Regions from separate parts of the Homo sapiens genome. Here regions 1 and 2 are each linked to region 3. The links are contacts of gene promoters, found by promoter capture Hi-C in blood cells and fetal thymus (Javierre and others, 2016). All regions are on one chromosome and are shown on one strand. The core of a region is centred on a gene start or on the middle of the fragment in contact, and the rest is flanking DNA. Distances in the headings are between cores, read along the strand shown. Region 1 holds the start of SERINC1 (serine incorporator 1). Region 2 overlaps SERINC1 (serine incorporator 1). Region 3 holds the start of ASF1A (anti-silencing function 1A histone chaperone).

The links. Contacts are between HindIII fragments. The CHiCAGO score rates a contact against its expected background, and 5 or more counts as called.
Region 1: a fragment that was not itself captured here is called in contact with the fragment with the promoter of ASF1A in region 3 in 4 of 17 cell types (naive B cells, naive CD8 T cells, total B cells and 1 more); the score reaches 6.9 in naive B cells.
Region 2: a contact is called between a fragment that was not itself captured here and the fragment with the promoter of ASF1A in region 3, in 1 of 17 cell types (total CD8 T cells). The highest score is 5.2, in total CD8 T cells.

The regions. Positions count from the first base shown.
Region 1 is chr6:122,471,684-122,476,314 of GRCh38, reverse strand. SERINC1 (serine incorporator 1) reads left to right here and starts at 4,508. Exons shown (of 10, transcript NM_020755.4): 1 at 4,508-4,616. The coding sequence starts at 4,578. It also overlaps a transcript of PKIB not described here. RefSeq lists enhancers at 4,349-4,408, 4,459-4,631. The HindIII fragment of the contact is 594 bases long and covers 1,437-2,030 here.
Region 2 is chr6:122,454,127-122,458,605 of GRCh38, reverse strand. SERINC1 (serine incorporator 1) reads left to right here. Exons shown (of 10, transcript NM_020755.4): 2 at 1-86; 3 at 1,956-2,125; 4 at 4,376-4,455. Among named protein-coding and RNA genes, the nearest start is that of SERINC1, 15 kb to the left of the region's middle. The HindIII fragment of the contact is 1,981 bases long and covers 2,159-4,139 here.
Region 3 is chr6:118,891,801-118,896,372 of GRCh38, reverse strand. ASF1A (anti-silencing function 1A histone chaperone) reads right to left here and starts at 2,221. Exons shown (of 4, transcript NM_014034.3): 1 at 1,851-2,221. The coding sequence starts at 1,959. All of the region lies in intron 8 of MCM9 (minichromosome maintenance 9 homologous recombination repair factor), which reads left to right. RefSeq lists silencers at 1,027-1,556, 2,347-2,486 and an enhancer at 1,937-2,026. The HindIII fragment of the contact is 9,487 bases long and covers 1-3,226 here.

The DNA.
Region 1 (4,631 bases), core at 484-2,983, 3.6 Mb before region 3:
CCTAATCTATTTTTGGCTTATCCTTTCAGAATATCTGTGAAATACTTAAACATGTTTACATTTAAGATATAACTAATTTAGGATAAAAGCCATAAAATACTTTTTATATTTTTGCTCTCCTTGGATTATATAACAAACTATGCACAAATTTTATTCATCCTTTAACTACTGTGGGGGGGCCAAGATGTTTCAGTCCTCATTATATTTAGTGTTGATGTACTAAGGACAAGAGAACTAAGCAGTATAATTTCTAATTTCCAGAAAAATATGACCTGATTATTTTCCTTAAAATCTGTTCCACTCTCACAATATTTCAGAGATATAGATCATTTATTAGGATAAAAAATAAAGTTTATACAGAGATTTGTGTAAAGGCAGGAAGGATTATGGGACCAAAGATGAGTCTAATTTTAGTCAACCTTGATGGAGACACACTGATTCTAGGTTACACTGGGAATTTTTAATGTGATATACATGATTCTAAACCATATCCTTATGGATTGATTATTTATTTTTACTTGTTTTTTTTGAGACAGAGTCTCACTCTGTCACCCAGGCTGGAGTGCAGTGGCGTGATCTCAGCTCACTGCAACCTCTGCCTCCCAGGTTCGAGCAATTCTCCTGCCTCGGCCTCTTGAGTAGCTGGGACTACAGACGCATGCCACCACACCGAGCTAATTTTTGTATTTTTAGTAGAGACAGGGTTTCACCATGTTGGCCAGGCTGCTCTCAAACTCCTGACCTCAGGTGATCCACCCACCTTAGGCTCCCAAAGTGCTGGGATTACAGGCGTGAGCCACCACACCCGGCCTATTTTTACTTTTATAGAGATGAAGTCTCACTATGTTGCCTAGGTTGGTCTCTAACTCCTGTGATCAAGCTATCCTCCTGCCTCAGTCTCTGGAGTGTTGGAAATAAGATGTGAGTCACTGCACCCAGCATAACCTTATGGATTTCAACAGGAATTACAAGAGGTGGCGAAGGGTTATTGACATTTATTTTCCTTTATGCTGAAGATGTGGTTTCTGAAAATAAAATTATTATTTTTAGTATTCTCTCAAAAATTCAATGGGCCAGGCGTTTTGGTACACGCCTGTAATCCCAGCTCCTCAGGAGGCTGAGGTTGCAGTGAGCTGAGATCAGGCCACTGCACTCCAGGCAGCGGTTGCAGGAGAATCGCTGGAATTTGGGAGGTGGAGGTTGCAGTGAGCCGAGATCAGGCCACTGAACTCCAGCCTGGGCAATAGAGCAAGCCTACGTCTCAAAACAATAACAAGAACAACAACAAACCAAAATGACTGATAACTGACAAATCTATATTTGAGAGTGACTTACATAAACCTAAATTTTGTACCTAAATCATTCTGAAATTACATTGGTTAATATTGATTTTTGTGAATCCATTATTGAAATTTTTACTATGGCTAGGATAAGCTTCGTAATCCTGCTTTACATTTTTCTCAGGGTACAATAGTCACAACTATAGTTTATCTGGGAGAATTCATTTACCTATATGTAAGAATGAACCTGGACTATCTTCTAAGGAAAACCTTAAGCCTGTCTATAGTACTCCACAGATCTCCCAGCCCATTTCTGTGCATGTCTATTCTGACAAGTATTTTGGTCTTTCTCCTGAATTTCCCTAAGAGACTATTAATTTTACATACCATTTATTTGAATGTTAAAGTCTATGTCTTGTCCTTAATTGACAACACAGAGCATTCATGCTCTGATTCTTGACAACAAACATAACCTTCAGCTCTCTGATGCCACATATGGATCAAAAGTTTAATTATGAGAAAAGATATTCTAGGAGGGCTGCCAGAAGGCTATGAAGTCCATCCTTCCCTCCATCAGTATTTCTTAAACTATATTTCATGGAACACTTACAGTGCATATTAATACATTTCATAAGAAAAAAAGATTTTTTAAGGTCAAGTTTAGAAAACATTAGGAGTGAAGGAATTGAACATGCTAATATGCAACATCAGTCACAAGAGAAGAATGTAACAGGCAGTACCATCCAAGCTTATCTGAAAACTTCTTCCAGCATGGCTACTTAGTAACATTCTCAAAAAAATCAATATTCCAATTTTTTTGTTTTTTGGCATACTAGCCCTTAATCAAGTCAGAGAACTGAGTTATTAGATAGCATGGCTTTTTTGTTTGTTTGTTTGTTTTGAGACAGAGTTTTGCTCTTATCACCTAGGCCGGAGTGCAGTGGCACGATCCCAGCTCACTGCAACCTCTGCCTCCTGGGTTCAAGCAATTCTCCAGCCTCAGCCTCCTGAGTAGCTGGGATTACAGAGGTGTGCCACCATGCCCTGCTAATTTTTGTATTTTTAGTAGAGACAGGTTTTCGCCATGTTGGCCAGGCTGGTCTGGAACTCCTGACCTCAGGTGATCTGCCCGCCTCAGCCACCTAAAGTGCTAAGATAATGGGTGTGAGCCACCATGCTCAGCTAGATAGAATGTTTTTTACTAACGTACTTACTTAGACTAATTTGAATTTTGGCATTGTAAGTTATACGTGTGCTACAGGAAGTCACCTGGAGAAATGGGTGCTCCTACTAATAGCTGGTATATATTGAGAAAACTATGCTTTGAGCTGTGTTTGGGTTGAAATTTGAAAAAGTCATCATTTCAATTTTCTTTCATAGTTGGCAAAGAGAAAAATGAGACTGGTGTCGAAGACTCTTCTAACGAATAAAATAGTCTATATATACTGTCGTGTCCAATTAATGTTGTATATATAATAACTTAAGTGAGCAAATTCCACTCCACATAGCCTACAGGTTAAATAAAAGTAAATTTTTTTTAATGTATTTCAAGGCCAAGTGTTACATTCCAGAAAGATTAATATGACTTTTGTATTTAACTCTGAATATCTCAGGTGAAAAAACTCTATTGAATAGTGCAAGAACTTATGAATATCTCAGAAACCCTCTTAAATGGAGCAAGAGACAAGAATCTGTGCAAATTTAAATTTTAAGAGACCCATTCTCCATTTGGCTAATAAACATATTCTTTACGACCTTAAAGTTACTCACATATAAGTGTTTTTTGTCTCCTTCTCTGGTACTTTGAAAAGTTTAAGGACTTGAGATACTAGGATTCTCTTCTCCCATAAATAACGTATTAAGTTTAGCATAATTAAAAATATTGTTAGGTTTGTAATTTCCATTTCCACTATTCTTTTTTTTTGAGACGGAGTCTCGCTCTGCAGCCCAGGCTGGAGTGCAGTGGCCCAATCTCGGCTCACTGCAACCTCTGCCTCCCGGGTTCAAGCAGTTCTCCTGCCTCGCCTCCCGAGTAGCTGGGATTACATGCGCGTGCCACCATGCCCGGCTAATTTTTTGTATTTTTAGTAGAGATGGGGTTTCACCATGCTGGCCAGGCTGGTCTTGAACTCCTGGCCTTGTGACCCGCCTGCCTCAGCCTCCCAAAGTTCTGGGATTACAAGCATTTCCACAATTCTTTAAACCTTATGGATGCTCTATTATAATACTTTGCTTTAAGAGTGGTCTACAAAACCACAGATAAGGCAAAGAAGAATAAAGCAAGATTGTCCCTTAGTGGTTACAATAACTAGGAGTAGGGATTCTGACATTCTTCCAGATTCTTAGGTGTTTACCCCACCTCGACCCATGCAATTTTTGTAGATTTTACAACACTTTCTTATTATTAGTTATGGGAATGACTATTTCAAGTTTGAGCTGTTTCCCAGAATATTTTCAAGAACAAATAACTCTAAAAAAATAACTGGAACTTTTATAGGAATGCATTCCCTGCAGATGTGCATCATCACCTAATATGCAAGGGTTCCACATGCCTCAACAGCTCATGACATTCGAAATCAATGTTTGAGTTTGATAATGTCTTATCTAACTAATTAAAAATAATTTTAACGTGCAAATTTCTTGTAACATCTTAATAGCATAAGAAATTAAAATATAAGTCAATAGCAAACAGAAATGATACAGAGAAACTGAAGCACACAGATGAATATAAATATCCCAATAAAACTTGTTCCGGGCAGCGGGCTGCAGGAATACGTTGCAAACGCAAGAGCAAAACAGGATGCAAACGTGGGAAAAATGGGAAATAAGTGGAGTTAGGACGGACAAAGACTGAGAAAGAGGAAGCAATCCCCTAAAAAGCAGAGAGGTTCCTCAGATGAAGGAGGGCAAAACGTCAACCACCACCTCAGCTCTGTTCTCTACTAATGCCCAAATGCAAGTGCATGGTAGGTAAAGGTGGGTTTTGCTCACACCGTTTTCTTAATTTGGCAAACTACGGTCAGATCCACATTAGCCGTTAAGTTTCCAGCCAGCAGTCCTTGAGAAATTCTCCAGGAAAGAAGACAGCCGTGTCGTCTAGTGACGCGCATGCGCAGTCTCAGCGCTGCGCGCTCCGTGTTTTATCCTACCCAGGCCTGGAAGGAAGTGACGCGAGGCTGAGGGGCGGGTTGCGCTGTGCGTCCGGAAGTGTCTCGCAGATAGTAAATAATCTCGGAAAGGCGAGAAAGAAGCTGTCTCCATCTTGTCTGTATCCGCTGCTCTTGTGACGTTGTGGAGATGGGGAGCGTCCTGGGGCTGTGCTCCATGGCGAGCTGGGTAAGGTGCTTTTTG
Region 2 (4,479 bases), core at 1,900-4,399, 3.6 Mb before region 3:
GATTGATCTATGCACTTTTCTTGCTTGTTGGAGTATGTGTAGCTTGTGTAATGTTGATACCAGGAATGGAAGAACAACTGAATAAGGTTAGTCTCGTTTCTTATTTATTGATTAACTGAGGCTATAGGGTATATATGTATATGTATAAAATTGATTCGGGGATATTGTAAACAGAATAATATAGAATAAGACAGTATGTAATCCTAGTTGTAGTTCATAATCTTTTAGGAAAAAGATAATATACATTAGTTTGTTAAGTTCTATGATGGTGGTACAGGAAATGTACTGTGGTAATACACAGAAAGAAGTATAATTCTAACCAGGTGTCAGAATCTCAATGGGTCATGGAAAAAAGGATGTTCTAAGAATGATTAGAACTTGCATATACAGAGATTGAAAAATAGAAAGCATAATGAGTATAAAAGAGCTTTTCAAGCAAAGTATCTATACTTTAGGAAGATTAATCTTACAATTAATAAAGTATAAAAGTCAAGCAGTTAAATATGGAGGCTGTTGCAGTGGTATAATCAAGAAGAGAATAGCGGACCTGAAATAAGATTTTCTGGATGTAAAATTGACTGAGCCTAGCACTGAAATATTGGCAGTGATATGGAATCATAAATAACAACCAGGTTCTGGTCCTACAAAACCGGGAGGAAAGTATTGCTATTAACCTAGAAAGGAAAATTTTTAGAGAGAGTCAGGTTGTGGAAGGAGATTGGGAACACATAATAAATTTAGTTTCTAACATGTTGACTTGGTGGTATTGTATCGTGTACATGTATATATATATATATATATGTATGTCTTACTCAGTTCAGGCTGCTATAACAAGAATATCATAGGCTGGGTGGCTTAAGACAACAAAAATTTATTTCTCAGTTTTGGAGGCTGAAAGTCCGAGATCAGGGTGCCACCATGGTCAAGTTCTGATGAGGATCTTATTCCTGGTTTACACATGGCCATCTTACATTTTTGAAAGAAAGCAGCAGCTCTCTTCTGTCTGTTTTTATAAGGGCATTAATCCCATCCTGAGGGCTCTACCCTCATGATTTAATTACCACATAAAGGCCCTATCTCCCACTATCCTCCCATTGAGGGTTAGAGTTTCAGCATTTAATTTTGGGTAGACACAAACACGAAGTCCATAATAATATACAGCAGTAAGTAGAAAACATGAAGGAATTTAAAAGAGAAATCAGAGCTAGAGACTGCCTTGAGGATAGAAATTGAATGTTGAAACCATGGCAGCGTATGCTGAAGATCATTCAGAGTGAGCAGAGCTAGAACTCTGCCAAAATCTCTTACTTAAGGGAGTTAGTGGAGAAAGGAAAACCTGATTCTGATCCTAGAAAACTGGGAGGGAAGGGATAACAGAAAAGAACAAAGAAAATGTATAGGTTCTAGGAAGAAAGTTTTAAGAATGACAGGGATAGTGTCTATATAAAAATGAGATTAAGGAATGTGATTAAGCAGTAGCCTTTGGGTTTGGAAACCAGTACATGACTAGTATCCTGGAAAAGCAGTTTTTTTAGAGTGCTGGGACTGGAAAGAGTGGGAGGAAATAATTTATTCTTATATATATGAATAATAGATGTATTAATAGTTCTGAACAGTAGTCTCAGAAATAGCACTTACACTACTAAAACAAGTCTATCGTGCTATTCAAGTAGAATGCAAGTTTTTAAAATGTAGGATAAATCTATAACTCAAAATAAGCAACCAGCATAGAGTTGGTATTGTAGTTTATGATTTGCGCAGATGGGGATTTAACTCTTTTTTCCCCACTGTATGTGATTAAAATGTATCAGACTCATCTTGAGTACATATTCATCATAAATTGTAAAGCAAATGCCAGTTTTCTAAACCTTTACTTAAACTATTTGATTACATGTAATTTTTATTTTTACTTAATGAAAAAAAATGATGGATCATAAACTCTTTTGTTTTTCTAGATTCCTGGATTTTGTGAGAATGAGAAAGGTGTTGTCCCTTGTAACATTTTGGTTGGCTATAAAGCTGTATATCGTTTGTGCTTTGGTTTGGCTATGTTCTATCTTCTTCTCTCTTTACTAATGATCAAAGTGAAGAGTAGCAGTGATCCTAGAGCTGCAGTGCACAATGGGTAAGTTTTTAAATAAGCTTCAATATAAAAGCTTGGGTAGCCTCTTCTTGATAATTGCCAGTTTATCCAAGGAAACTTTAAGGTAAAATAAACTTATACAATTTGCAGAATTACTTTATTCATGAATGACAGGATAAGAAAATCTTGTTTTTACTGGAGAATGTCAGACTTTGGATATTAAATAATAGCTGTGATAACCTCTGATCCACAGTGTTTTATATTTTCATACTAAAAAAGAGGCTCTATTATATTTGTGACTACTAAGGGAATAGCTATTTCTCCTTCTACTGTTAACTTTAGGTGGACCAGTCCACTTACATAGAACTCTCAGTTCCCTAGACCCAGAGAGCAGATTTTTCTAGGTTGGTTGTATTGGACAACCCAGAAAGAAACTTCAGGGTTTCTTTTATCAATCTTCCTTCATATAGAGCACTACTTCTGGTACCCTTATTTGACTGTTTTAATATCTGCTGTTGCTTATCTAGTTATATGTGCTACCAAAGACAAAAAGTATAAACAAGTAGAATATAAATATTAATGAGAAAATATGTGACGGGTTGCTTTTCCTTTATTTTGTTCCTTTGGTCATTGATTATTTTATTAAATTATTAGAGTTTTAGATGGAGGCATTTATCATGTGTTTATAAAAACTATTCATTTATACAGTTCACCTTATACTTTGATACATTATCCCACTTATGTGAAATAAGCCTGTGAAATGGAACTAACATTCTCATTTTTCCATAATGAATTAGTGAGAAATACATCTTTCTCAAAATGGTCTTAAAAGCAGTTTATGTAATTGTTGTTTTTTCTGATAATCAAGTGTATTAGGGTTCTCTAGAGGGACAGAACTAATAGGATAGATAGATATATATAAAGGGGAGTTTATTAAGTATTATCTCACATGATCTCAAGGTCCCACAATAGGCCATCTGCAAGCTGAGGAGCAAGGAGAGCCAGTCCTAGTCCCAAAACTGAAGAACTTGGAGCCTGATGTTCAAGGGCAGGGAGCATCCAGCACAGGAGAAAGATGTAGGCTGGGATGCTAGGCCAGTCTAGTCTTTTCACTTTTTTTTTTTGCCTGCTTTATATTCTAGCCCTGCTGGCAGCTGATTAGATGGTGCCCACCCAGATTAAGGGTGTGTCTGCCTTTCCCAGCCCACTGACTGAAATGTTAATCTTCTTTGGCAACACCCTCACAGACACACCCAGCATCAGTACTTTGCACCCTTCAATCCAATCAAGTTGACACTCAGTATTAACCATTACAAGTCAGTACTTTGCATCCTTGAATTCAATTGACACTCAGTATAACTATCAGAAGTCTACCCATTGTCAACTTGAACCCGTATACATCTCCTGAGATCATACATAATCTGCAAATAAAGACAATAATAAGGTCATACAACTAACCTTACAACTGAAAACGCACCAGTCCCCAACCAAAATACTAATTACATAAAGTTAACAATACTTAAATGCTGATGTGAAGTCAGTAAATCTTATGTCACATGATAAAGGAGAATGGAAATAAAATGAAGATATTTTCTTAGTACAAGTATATGCATGCATGAACATGTTTTTGACAAAACAAGGAGGAAGTACTCACAACAATTACAGCCCTCGTTTCTGCAGCTGGACATGTGGTCATAGCTGGTATTGATGACTGCCTTCTGCTACCCATTGTGTATTCCCTTTGCCTTCAGCAAGCAACTCAGCAGGTCGTGGTTTTTTTCCTGGTGGAGTGACCCAATGATCTCCATAAGCGCCTACTTTAACTGGGGGACCACAATGTTGTTTTGGGTCCCCTGGAATCAATGTCAGCTCAGAGCCAGTGTCCAGTAGTCCCCAAAATGTCTTATCATTTCCCTTTCTTTTCCAGCCATTTGCTCTGATGCTTCCTCTAGCGTGGTCTGGGCTTTAATCCATTCCTTTCACATGTTGACTTGCCTTTCTTATCAGATTTTTTTTGCTTTGTTTTTTCCAATTGGAAAGATCTATAATATAAGCTTGGGTTCATGGTAATGGTTAATTTCACTCTCTCTCCAAACTATGTTATCTAAATATGATGATTACCTTGTTTTGTAGTTACAAATATGGCTACACTCCAGATCATAATATCCTCAGAAAGAAGTAGAACATTCACATAAAGTGTAGCTATTTGTTAAGATGCAGTTAAATGATTTCATATATGAAATTATTTGATGAATGTCTATTAATAAAAAATTATATTTCTTTTTGTTTTAGATTTTGGTTCTTTAAATTTGCTGCAGCAATTGCAATTATTATTGGGGCATTCTTCATTCCAGAAGGAACTTTTACAACTGGTAAGAAATCCTTTTTAAGTTGTT
Region 3 (4,572 bases), core at 972-3,471:
AAGAACTTCTGGTGGTATATCTGAAAAACAGTGTGGTATAAGTTGGAATGGACCGATCAATGGTTTTTCTTTTGTCTATTTTTATATGCAGTTGGCAATAAAAAAAAAATTACTGTTGGGTGTGAAAAATGGGCCTGGTAGCTGCAATGCTTATATTAATAGTAGTATCATAGGAGAGTAATCAAATGACTTCAGAGTAATAAGAAAAATACCCCTTAGTGTTATCAATGGCCTATTTGAAATTATTTTAATAAATGAATCATCTTTCAAAATTTGCCCTATATATGTATGTGCATTTATGCTCTATATAGGTTTAAAAAAAAAAAAAAAACGGGGGCACATGTTAAAGTAATAATTGTGATTACCGAAAGGAGATAGGGCAAGGCACTGAGTACAGAGAACTGTTAACTTTATATATGCCTGTACAACTTTCTAAAAGTTTATTACAATGAATATATATTGTTTTATAATTAAAATTAACCTTACATATGATATATACATTTTAGAGATTAAAAACTAGTTTTTAAAATGAAAAGTTTTACATGCCACGATTACCTAAATCATCTTCAATGCATTTTTTACATATACTTCTAGTTCAAAGTATGTCCCTCATCGATGAAGTTAAACTATTTCCCCTTCAAAACTGGCAAATGAAGCACTGAATTACTTTAGTAAAAGATAATTAAAGCAAAGATAATTGTCGTTTTAGCTTTCTAAATATTTATTACTAAAGATATTAAAAATACGTATTTTTAAGACCTTAAAATATATGTAGAAAAAATACCAAGAATTCTTGGACTGACATGAGGAGTTGACCTTAATTTCCTAGCCTACGTTTGTGTTTTATGTTTAGGGTGTGTTCTGTATTTGGATGTGGAGTTATTTTAGATTTCAACACGGTCTTGAAGAAAGTCTTCCTTCAGACTATTTATAAGGCAGAGATTAAGTCCTGGAAATTATTTAAGTATCTTATTTCTGCTTTTAGGTTAAATGTAACTTCCTACCTCAGCTCTATTTCTCTTCCTGAAATTAGCTTTTCGTCATTAGGGGAAAGGAGTCCACGTTGGTTGGGGAGCCTGCGCGCCAGCATCCCGGCGCATCCCGGGCGCCGGCCGAGGAGGACCGGCCGAACAGGACCCACGGCCCCCGGGGAGCGCCGGCGCCCAGCCCGCGGCGCGGAGGGGCCGAGCCTGCGCCCGCCTCCCCCGCTGGTTGGTCGAGGAAGCCAGAAATCAGCGCGAGGACAGCCTCGCTCTCCTCCCCGAAGCGGCCAGGCATGGCCAGCCCGGAGAGTGCGGCGACTCCACCGTGAGCTCTCGAGAGTGCCTGCCTGCCTTTCGCCGGGGGCAGGCGGGCGGCGGGGCAAGAGGAGGCGCCGTGCGCCGGGGTCGCTGGCCCAATTCTCGACTCGGGGTAAGATGGCTCCGCTCCGAACTCGCCGGCGCGACCACACGCACAGCCTCTCCCTTCCCAGCCTCCGTGCTCGGGCCCGGAGGGTCGCGGAGGCTGTTGGCGGCGCGGAGCCAGCCCGGCGCGACCTCAGGCGGCGCAGCGGGAGCGAGTGCGGGTCTCCGAGCTGCCCGCCCGCAGACAAAGCTGACAACATGGCTACCTCCGCTCCTCCGCTCAAACAAGTTCCTCGCAAGTTGAGCCCGGCAGGCGCCTGGGCTGCGGCGGAAAGCCGCGCGCGCCTCGGCGGCCGTCGTCCATCAACTTCAAGTTTCCCTCCGCAGAGCAGCCCGCGGCCGCCAGGCGCCGAACACAGCCGCCCAGCGCGAGGCCCGGCCCGGGAAACTTTCAACGTCTGCAGCCCGCAACTGACAGCCCGGGCGCACGGGCGCCGCACTCACCTTCAGACAGGTCCTCGATGCACTCGAAGGTGATCTCGAACTGGAACGGGTTGTAGAAAGGAGAAGGGTTATCCAGCACCACTACATTGTTCACCTGAACCTTTGCCATATTTTGAAAAAAACACAAACAATGGGAACTGGGGCTGGTTGCGGCACAATAAAGTCCAGCGCGCGGCCGCTCGGGAGAGCGCAGACCCCCGCTCCAGCGCCGGCCAGACGTCGTGCAGCGGCGACTTGAGAAACTTTTTTCCTCTTTTTATTTACACGGGAGCACTCCACAGTGTTTTGCAGCTTTCCTATTTCACTAAACTACAGCCCATTCTGCTCTGATAAGTAGCAGCGTTGCCCTCGATTGGCTGCACCCGAGTTCTGACCCTCCTCCTCCAGCGAGGGCCTCGGCAGCCAGCAAGATGGGCTCCCGCTCCCGGAATGGACTCGGAAACTTTAACTGCGGCTCCACCTGCTGGTGTGGATTAGGACAAAGGCGGAGAACAAAGTGAGTGGAATAAGGGCTGGGAGGCCCGCGCGGAGGCCGCCGGCGGCGGCGCGGAGAGGGGCGGAGGGGGCGTGGCCGCGGCGGGGAGGCGTGGCTGCGGCGGGAGGGCGCGATCCGGCCGACGCCCGCCCCTCCAGTTGGCTTCGTGTGGGTGTTTTGGCGTTTTTTTGTTTTTTTTTTTGTTTTTTTGGTTTTTTGATTTAACGCTCTTTTTACATCAGTGCAACAGCTTTGCCGGCCTTGCTGAATTTAGCAGATGAGAGTCGGTGTTTACACTGGGTTAGGTTCAGCTTTCTGCGTATCGGGTAGTATTTGGAGTAGAGAGAAAGATTGGCTGCAGGGGAAATAAATTGCATGTTATAGACCGATGTCAGCTCGAAAGGAGCAAAGCCATTTTGGAAATCTAGCTCTTGGCCAGTATCTACGTTTAGGCACGACAGCGCCGTTAAGCAACACAAAATGAAGGGCGAGGAATGATTTTCTACACACTGTGCTTGGAAAATTTAAATAGGTAACCTTTGGGCTTGCACCTGGGCGTCTTCTTCGGAGTCCAGATCTGGGAAGTCCTAGAATAAAAAAAAATCACAAGAGGTGTGATCAGTTATACTTCAGGTTACTGCCATTTGGAGAGCATAGCAGGAACATAAAAGGAGAAAATGGAAGTGTTAGGAGACCAACAGGGCAACAAACGTAATAGAGATGGGAAAAAGAACACAAAGACATAGCAAGACATTTGATCTTCAAAAAAATTTCTGACCTAAACCGTTAGTAAAGCAAATTCTGAGGAGCCCTTGCTTGCCTGTAACCAGTTGAGGTCTGAACTGAGGAAATGTTGATTCGTTTATGCTGCTTGGCTACCATTGCGGGGAAAGAGAAAGCTTTAACATATTTGTGAGCCTAAACCGTTTCTATTTAGTAAGTGGTATAAAGGTTTGTTTTATTATCTGCTAGCCATAAACCATCATTTTTTTCCTTAAATGTTGTGAATGAAACCACCAAACTTGGCCAAATTCAGAGAGAAAATTAATTCTTAAGTATGTGTTCTGGAAGAGTTTTCTCTTAGTATAGTGCCCAGAATTTTGATTTGTCATTCTTTGGTCATTGTTCATACTTAAGTAGGTGGCTTTTGATGAAACGTTTTCATCTGATGGTCTTTTGAAAGTTAATGTGAGACAGCTAATGTCAACCCCTCGTACATTTAGGAAAACCGGTTAGAGTGGGGAAGAGTTCCCTTTTTTTGTCAGTGGATTGAACAGTTAGATATAGGACCTACCAAAAAACACTTCTTCAAGCCAGTTGTTTGTGACATTAGAGTATTAAGAGTCAAACCATGGTGATAGACACAGATTTTTGTGGCTGATAAACAACATACTCTTCATTCTTATTAGTGCTGGTCCTAACACTAGCAGATAAAGTGGAAATTGCTGTATGCTGTAAGACACTCTGTATATGTAAGATAAAATGACCATTTGAAGATTAAAACTCCTGTGAGACTGGTGTATGCAGTTGTCTGATTATTACAGGTACTCTTAAGAGGAGAGTCTAGTCAGTCTCATGAAAACGACATTTTATGCTTGTTAAAATCACGTGCATTTTGCAGTCTGACCGTAAGTGTTACAATGAGACTAGTTGTAAAACTCACTTTTGGTGGATGTGCAGCATGAAGGACTGAGAAGATCTACCTGAATGCCACTAATTTGGCTTATTTTCTTTAAAATTTTTTGTTTAACACATCATATGCAACAGTATTTAAGAAGAAAAAACTCCCCAACATTTCACTGGAAGCTGCAAGAATTAGCTCCAGGCTTCTCCTGTCTTAACTCTTGTATTATTGCTTGTCAGAAATACTAAAGGGTCGTTGAGCACTTTGTTCAATAGTTTCCTCACCATTGATACTACCTTACTCCAGGAGAGACCGAAAGGATTCCTCAGATATGTCCTGGCATATTTCTAATTTAACTGGTATGCTGTAGGAAAAAAAGAATTGTGAAAGCCTCTCTCTGGTTTCAGAGGCAATCAGTAGGACTTGTTGCTGAACAACTTTGGTGACTCCCAAACATCTAATTGTACAACAGATGGGTCACTGTGAATGTCTTTATTAAGTACCCAAGGGGGTCCCACATAATGTTTGGAGGGCTGCATGGAATGTAATCCCCCAATCACTTCTCACTATGGGTTACTTGGGGGAAGGATGGCTGAGAGAGATTTTATCGGCTCTAAGATGAA